2 separate regions of the Homo sapiens genome follow, and region 1 is linked to region 2. The links are contacts of gene promoters, found by promoter capture Hi-C in human tissues and cell types (Jung and others, 2019). All regions are on one chromosome and are shown on one strand. Each heading gives the region's core, a stretch centred on a gene start or on the middle of the fragment in contact. The rest is flanking DNA. Distances are from core to core; before and after follow the strand shown. Region 1 overlaps SLC39A9 (solute carrier family 39 member 9). Region 2 holds the start of MED6 (mediator complex subunit 6).

Evidence for each region. The method cuts DNA at HindIII sites, captures the fragments that hold promoters and counts their contacts. A contact is called where the count stands out against the background at its distance.
Region 1: a fragment that was not itself captured here is called in contact with the fragment with the promoter of MED6 in region 2 in 1 of the 25 tissues and cell types used here (aorta).

The regions. Positions count from the first base shown.
Region 1 is chr14:69,411,114-69,415,208 of GRCh38, forward strand. The region is part of intron 1 of SLC39A9 (solute carrier family 39 member 9); the gene reads left to right. Among named protein-coding and RNA genes, the nearest start is that of SLC39A9, 14 kb to the left of the region's middle. The HindIII fragment of the contact is 3,498 bases long and covers 1-3,121 here.
Region 2 is chr14:70,598,256-70,602,211 of GRCh38, forward strand. It overlaps MED6 (mediator complex subunit 6), which reads right to left and starts at 2,400. Exons shown (of 8, transcript NM_005466.4): 1 at 2,361-2,400. The coding sequence starts at 2,382. RefSeq lists an enhancer at 1,902-3,101. The HindIII fragment of the contact is 4,302 bases long and covers 1-3,474 here.

The sequences.
Region 1 (4,095 bases), core at 123-2,622, 1.2 Mb before region 2:
AGGCAGGAGAATCGCTTGAACCTGGAAGGTAGAGGTCGCAGTAAGCCAGGTTCACACCACTGCATTCCAGCCTGGGTCATAGAGTGAGATTCCATCTCAAAAAAAAAAAAAAAAAAAAACTTTAAAAATTGTTGGCTTGTCTTTAGGTGAACCAATTTGTTGACTGTTTCTGTGAGCAGGGAAAGAAAGACCATTTAATTACCTTGGTGTCTGCCAAGAAATATTAAACTGACTTCAAAGCTTGTGCTGATGGTTAACGGCATAGAGTGCAAGCTGTTGTTTTAATTAATGTATCTAGCAGATCCTTTGGTTCAGTCAGGCTGCAACTGTGAACTTCTAAAATGAGATAACATAAAACCAATGGCATTGCACAGTTCATGCCTCTCCTGAGCAAATACTTCATTTCACTGACAGAAACTGTTGGTTTGGGAACTGTCTTTTGATCTTGAATGACACTTGGAATTTGTAGTTCTCCATTTAAATAAACTTTTTAGTGATTTACCATAAGCAAAAGAAAGAACCTGTCAGCATTTTGTTAACTTTAATATAAACACAACTTGAGATTGAATCCCAAGTTGTGTGAAAGAATACAGCCATACAAATACATGAAGCCACAATTCTAGCGCTTAAAATAAATCAGATTGAGTCTAAAATGATCAGGTAAAGAATTTTTTTTTTTTTTTTTTTGAGACGGAGTCTCGCTCTGTCGCCCAGGCTGGAGTGCAGTGGCGGGATCTCGGCTCACTGCAACCTCTGCCTCCCAGGTTCAAGCGATTCTCCTGCCTCAGCCTCCCGAGTAGCTGGGACTACAGGCACATGCCACCATGCCCAGCTCATTTTTGTATTTTTAGTAGAGATGGGGTTTCACCATGCTGGCTAGGATTATCTCGATCTCTTGACCTCGTGATCCGCCTGCCTCAACCTCCCATAGTGCTGGGATTACAGGCATGAGCAACCGCACCCAGCCTATGGCCCTTTATTAAATGTATTTGCCGGCTGGGCACAGTGACTCACGCCTGTAATCCCAGCACTTTGGGAGGCCGAGGCGGGTGGATCACGAGGTCAGGAGATCGAGACCATCCTGGCTAACACGGTGAAATCCTATCTCTACTAAAAATACAAAAAATTAGCCGGGCATGGTGGCGGGCGCCTATAGTCCCAGCTGCTCAGGAGGCTGAGGCAGGAGAATGGCATGAACCCGGGAGGCGGAGCTTGCAGTGAGCCAAGATCACGCCACTGCACTCCAGCCTGGGCGACAGAGCAAGACTCCATCTCAAAAATAAATAAATAAATAAATAAATAAATAAATAAATAAATAAATAAATGTATCTGCATGCCCCTTGAGTGAAACTATCAATTCTGAATCAACTAATCACTGAAAATTCTTGATATAGTTACAAGGAATATATGAGGTCTATTTCCTGGCACAAATATTCTAAAGAGGTTCCGCTACATTTGTGTAATTGTTTGTATCAGAGCCCAGTGGCCGGTACCAAGTCCCCAGTGCTTTGCTTGGTGGTGGGCATTTAATTCATTCTTTCAATAAATATTTAGGGGAAACTGCTGTGTGCCAGATACTTCCTTATAAATTGAGAATTCAGCAGTAAATTAAAGATCTCTGCCCTGACAGAATTGGTAATTTTGTGGGGAAGGGGTTACAGGGACAAACAGTAAACATAGTGTTGAGTGGATATTTAACTTCATTTGGTAAATAAATGCACTTAATTTCAAAGTGAACTGAAAACAATACAATAGTTTTACCTCACGCTGCCTTTCTTCGAAGGAAATACTGCAAAGCTAGATGATTCATTCAGATTTACCTTGATGGTCTCATCCTACAAACTCAAATTCTTTGTTTCTGAATGTTTGATGGCATTATAATTTCATGTTTGCACTTAGATCAGGGTTTTCCAGCTTTTGGGTTTCATAGATCAGTCATATATTTAAAATTTCAAAGACTCGGCCAGGCGCAGTGGCTCACGCCTGTAATCCCAGCACTTTGGGAGGCCGAGGCAGGCAGATCACAAGGTCAGGAGATCGAGACCATCCTGGCTAACATGGTGAAACCCTGTCTCTACTAAAAATACAAAAAATAAGCCAGGCATGGTGGCAGGCACGTGTAGTCCCAGCTACTCGGGAGGCTGAGGCAGGAGAATGGCATGAACCCGGGAGGTGGAGCTTGCAGTGAGCCAAGATCATGCCACTGCACTCCAGCCTGGGCAACAGAGCGAGACTCCGTCTCAAAAAAAAAAAAAATTTTTTTTCAAAGAATCGATACAGGATTACCTCCTTTTAATTTTGCCATGTAAGGACACTAAAAATAAAAACAAAAACTGTTGTCACCATCATTTCTTAAAAGAAAGGACATTATAACCAAAATTAGGTAGGATATAATCTCAGAATAAAAAATAGATCTTTATATTGAAGAAATAAAGCTTTATGATGTGCTCACTGTATTGTCCTTATTTTATTTTGTCATGAACCATTAGAAACTGTCAATAGAGAAGAATTACAACTATTTATGATTTTGTTTTTTCTCTCGGTGTTGCTGAGGGATTTTGCTGATTCATACTATTTTGAAAGGTTGCATGAATATCATCTTTTTTGGAGATAAATTTTTTTATAATGGATTGTATGTATTATGCTATGCAGTGAGCATTGTCATGGAGTGCAATGCTGAATCTAATCATCCCTGTAACCACTAACTAGCTTAGTCATGTGATCTTGGGCAAATCACTTCTCATCTTTGGCCTTCGATTCTCCATCTATATATTGAGAGAAAATCATTTTTTATATTTTCTCCCAGTTCTTTAATTTGAATTGATAACTTTGGTAGCTAATATCCCTATTTTTAAAACATGGGTCTAAAGATTAATAAAAACCTTTACTGTGGCTTTCTAAAAACTTGCACCAAACTCCTGTTTATATTTCATATTCTTTTTTTTTTTTTTTTTTGAGAGAGGGTATCGCTCTGTCACCCAGGCTGGAGTGCAGTGGCACAGTCTCAGCTCACTGCAACCTCCGCCTCCTAGGTTCAAGCGATTCTCTCTCAGCCTCCTGAGTAGCTGGGACTACAGTTGTGCACCATCATACTCGGCTAAGTTTTGTATTTTTAGTAGAGACAGGGTTTCGCCATGCTGGCCAGGCTGGTCTCGAACTCTTTTCCTGCTTTTAAAACTTATCTCAATGTAGTTTTTCATGTGACCCTAGGGTAGAGTATTATGAAGCACTTGGTAAGTGCCTAGTGAATTGTGGGTTGATCCAGAATTGTGAACACCACTGGTTTCCCCATAATGTTACTGACATAAAATTGTGGTGAATTATTTTTGAGAAGTATCTGAATGGCAGATGAGATTGTTTAAGGAAAATTTTTGGAAGGGCCTTTTAGTATTCGAATTAGATCTCTGACCTTGATTTCAGAGAACTGCCGTGAGGAAAGAAGCCTTGTTAAAACTGAATATTCTAAAATGAATCCTTTCAGAAATCCTGGCTAAGTAAATTACTGCCCAGTTAATTTTTTTATAAATAGATAATTTTATAGAATGAAAGGTACAGATCTTAATATAGGTTGATGAATTTTAGCAAATGTTTACAAATGTAACATCCCAATCAAGATTTAGAACATATCTGTTATTCTAGAAAGTAACCTGATGCCACTTTCCAGTGAATCCCCACTGTGTGGCCACCCTCTCATCACTGGTCACCAGAGGCAGTCACTGTTCTGATTTCAATCTTTATAGATTAGTTTGGCCTGTTTTTAAACTTCATATACATTTATTCATACAGTATATACTCCTTTGTGTAAAGCTTCTTTCACTCAAACATCAGGAAAATGTTTATGAGATTTGTTCATTTATGTGCTGTATGTAGCCGCAGTTTATTCCTTTTTATTACCAAGTGGTATTCCATTGTTTAAATATACCACAATTTGTTTATCCATTCTCCTGTCAATGGACATCTGATCCAGATTGTGGCTATTCTTGATGTAGCTTCTATGAATATTCTTGTACAAGTTTTTTGTGGACATATGTTTTCATTTCTTTTGGGGAAATGAAAAAGGGGAATGCTAGTTTAACTTTATAAGGGACTGCTAAT
Region 2 (3,956 bases), core at 1,150-3,649:
CATTGGACTCCAGCCTGAGCAACAAGAGTGAAACTCCGTCTCAAAAAAAGAAAAAAAACAAAACAAAAAATTAGCCGGGCATGGTGGTGGACACCTGTAATCCTAGCTACTCGGGAGGCTGTGGCAGGAGAATCACTTGGACCCAAGAGGCGGAGGTTGCAGTGAGCTGAGATCGCGCCACTGCACTCCAGCCTGGGCGACAGAGCGAGACTCCGTCTCAAAAAAAAAAGACATGAAGAAATGTGTTACGAGACTACAGAGGACCTGGGGAAACGAAAATCATTTTTCATGTGGAGAGAAGGTGGGTTTTAGCACGGTATGTTAAAGAATAAATAAAAACTTACACAGAGAAAAGGGCAAAGTAATTCCAAGCAGAGAGAATGTATATACAGAGGTGTAAAAATATAAAGTATATTATATCTTTAGAGAATAATTTCATTAGGTGAAGAAGTGATAAGATTTAAAATTTAGAAAGGACTTTTTTTTTTATTGGAAATCCTTAATGCTGGCAAGGAATTCAAAATTTTCAAATAACATGTATGCCCAAGAGAACACATCTATAGCTACCAGTTTGAGATCTCTCAATTAGGGATAGAGAAGTTAGGAAGCTATTATTGTAGATGAGATGATAATGATGTAAAAGCTAAGGGATAAACAGGAAGTAGAGTTCCCTTAACTACAGCCACACGGTTTCATATTTAGCGTAGAATTAAATCATAGCTTTTAAAAAGACATGATAGAGCTAGATACTTTTAATAAATGAGCTTGTATTGGCTATTGGCTTTCATGATGCTTCATACCACTGACTGTACTGAACACCACTAGGTGTAAATCATGAACATCAAAATGCCTATACAATACTGGTTGAAAAACTTCAATCTCTCTTATACTGTCATTACCTCAGGCATCTTCAAAGAAGTCAGACCTAATTCAAGGTGACAGGCAGTTTTGAGCCAAGTGACTCAACCGAGAAAAATTATATAAAGGTAAAATGTACTTTGTGTGCTATAAAATAAAGGAGGAGACAGATGAAGTGCGTTAATAACCAAATAATTAGTATAGACCATTTAGATAGTTCATCATAACTGGATCATGCAATAACCAAATACACAACAGGCCAGGAAATAACATTTTCAGAAATGGCCTCCTAACTGGTTTTCCTAATTCTACCCTTGCCCTCCTACACTGTTCCCAGCAGCCAATGTAGTCCTAAAAAAAAGTCAGATCACATCATTCCTCTGATGGAAACCCCTCCAATGGCTCTGCGTTTTACTCAGAGGAAAAGCCAAAGACCTTATCATAGCTTTCAACACCTTTCTGACTTCATCTCCTTCCCACATCCTCTCTCACTACCCTCCAGCCACACTGACCTCCTTGCTGTTCCTTTAACACACCAAACACACTCTTATTTTAGAGTCTTTGCCATGATCCTAACAATCTGAATTATAAGTAAAACATTTTATAAACTAAATATTTCTCTTTTTTATTCTGTAGCAAGGCAACATGTTGACATAGCCCAAGCATTCTAACAGCATTCTAACCATCAGCAAGTGATGAAATAAATAATGAAAGACACGTATGTAAAATCATGATCCAGAAGTGCTGCAGATCGCCAGATAAGTATAAATGAGAATATTTGTAATAAATGTGTTAGACCCCAATCCAGTTAATATTAAAAAAAGGCATCTCAAACATCTCCCTTTAAAAATCAAGTACTATATACACAAAAACAACTCTACATGCTCCCCAAGATCAAGCAGCAGTTAAGGGGTGACATCTCCATACATTTATTCACTGACTGATTCAATATTTGAGTACTTCTGCAGTTCAGCTGTGAAAAAAATACGACCCCTGCCCATAATAATTGCTGGACGTTCGATGTAAAGTATTATCGACTCAAAAAAAAAGAAAATATCTGGGATTCATGCTCAGGGACCCGTGTGGCGCGGTCTAAAGAATTAGGCAGCCACCATGCCAAGTCCCAAGAGATGAATCAAATCAAGTTGGCTTATTACCCCATTCCCTTCTCTGCCTAAACGCCATTCCTTCACTCCAATAGAATAGCCCTAATGTTGTTGCAGAGATACGTGTGTAGAACAAAACTCCAGCTCTGAAAGCTCAAAACCCAGAGCTTCTTCCAACCCCTTCTCTCCGACGCTTCCAAGAGACGCTCCAAGAACTCAGAAAAAAAAAAAAACTCGTCAACGTTTCGCTAGATCACAGCCTTGGGTTGTCCACAAAAACCACTCAAAAAAGCTTGAGACTTCACACAAAGGAACCTAAACCTTGAAACCGCGAGCTATAACATCCCAAACTGGTCCACAGACAATCAAGAGACAAAATATAGCAATACAGTATACCTCGGATATCCACCGCCGCCATAATTCCGAGAGCGTTTACAGGTTCTCTTTCCGGCGCAAAGTAAACGTAAGCCTAGGCCGCCGGAAGCAGCGGGTTGAAGAGAGTGCGCATGGGTGAGGAGGGACGTAGAGCGGAAGAGGGGGCGGGGCGGGCAGGAGAGAGGCAGGGGGTGGAGGTGCGGGTGGGAGGGGAGGAGACGCGAGGGGGCGGAAAGCGGGAGAGGCGCGGGAGGCGGGAAACGTGGGGTGGGGTGGGGTGGGGTGGGGTAGGGGAATGGGAGGGGACGGGACGCAGAAAGATTGGTGCAGGGGAGCAGGGAAAGACTAGAAGAGGGATGGGCCAAAGAAGGAGAACGGGAGGGCGGATTACTGGGAAAAAAATTAGAAGACTTAGAGGACAGAAAGACCGAGTGGAGTCCCGCCCCACGCCCACCACTGATGGAAGAATTCTGCCTTGATCGTCTGTGATCGTCAAGAAAACAAATTCTGATGCTGTAGAGTTGTGCTTGGGAGTGTCTCTTAATTTTAAAAGCTCCCCGGGTGTATCCACTGAGCTATCAGATTTAGGAACGATGGTCATTTATATTTTTCTCCCTGCCTCAGGTATTGGGATGGGACAGGACTTAAGAATTTGGGAGTCATTGGCTTTTATGTGACTAAATCCATTAAAAATCTAAACCAATTAAAGAAGCCTCTGAGAAAAATTTCACAACACAGGAAATGCTTCTGAAGTGAAATATTAATAAGATTAAGAGAAAGGGAATACCCCTGGGTCCCAGAGTAATGAGCAAATGTCTGCATTCCAAGTAGTCTGGAGTAGGTAGCAAGGCTCCAAAGAGGGAATGATTCTGTGTACGGGGAAGCTACAGAAAGCCTCAGATTCTCAAGCTTCAGTGTGGCTCTGTAAAAGCAAAACGATACAGAAATATGCAAACAACACACAGATACTAGGAAGAGGATGCCAAAATCTGAAGGAGGGATGAGGGCGGGTGCCTACATCTTCTCCAAAACTTAGGTACTGTGAAGACTCCCCAAGAATTTAACCACAACCCAGGAGCAAGAGGGGAAGACCAGAAATTTAATTGGGATTTTCAACCTCATAGACAAGGAATTAAAAATTTGTTAACTCCGTAGAATAAAAGTACGTTGCCTGTACATTTCAGTTTGGGAATTTTCTGCCTGAGATGGTATGTATAAAATAGGTGTCCCAACAGAAGTATGTGCATGCACAGAGTAAAGTTTTGAGAGAGAATTTTTCAGGAGGGCCTGGTTGGGAGCCTAGTGGGAGGACATTGCAAAAAGGAAGAGTATCGTGTCCAATAAAAAGTGTGATCCATAAAGCTTTTTGTTTTGTTTTTCTAGTTTTTTGTTTCCTTGTGTTTTGATTAGGCTAGAAGGAGATTAGGAAGAATAGTGACAGAATGCAGATCTGTAGATAATAAAACATATGGTATGCATGGTAAATAAGACCTGGAAGCTCAACCTTTATTTTGTAGGCAATGGGAGAAATGTGATCAAGCTTCCATTTTAGAAAGATAACTTGAGGAAGACAGGGCAAGGTGGCTCACGCCTGTAATCCCAGCACTTTGGGAGGCC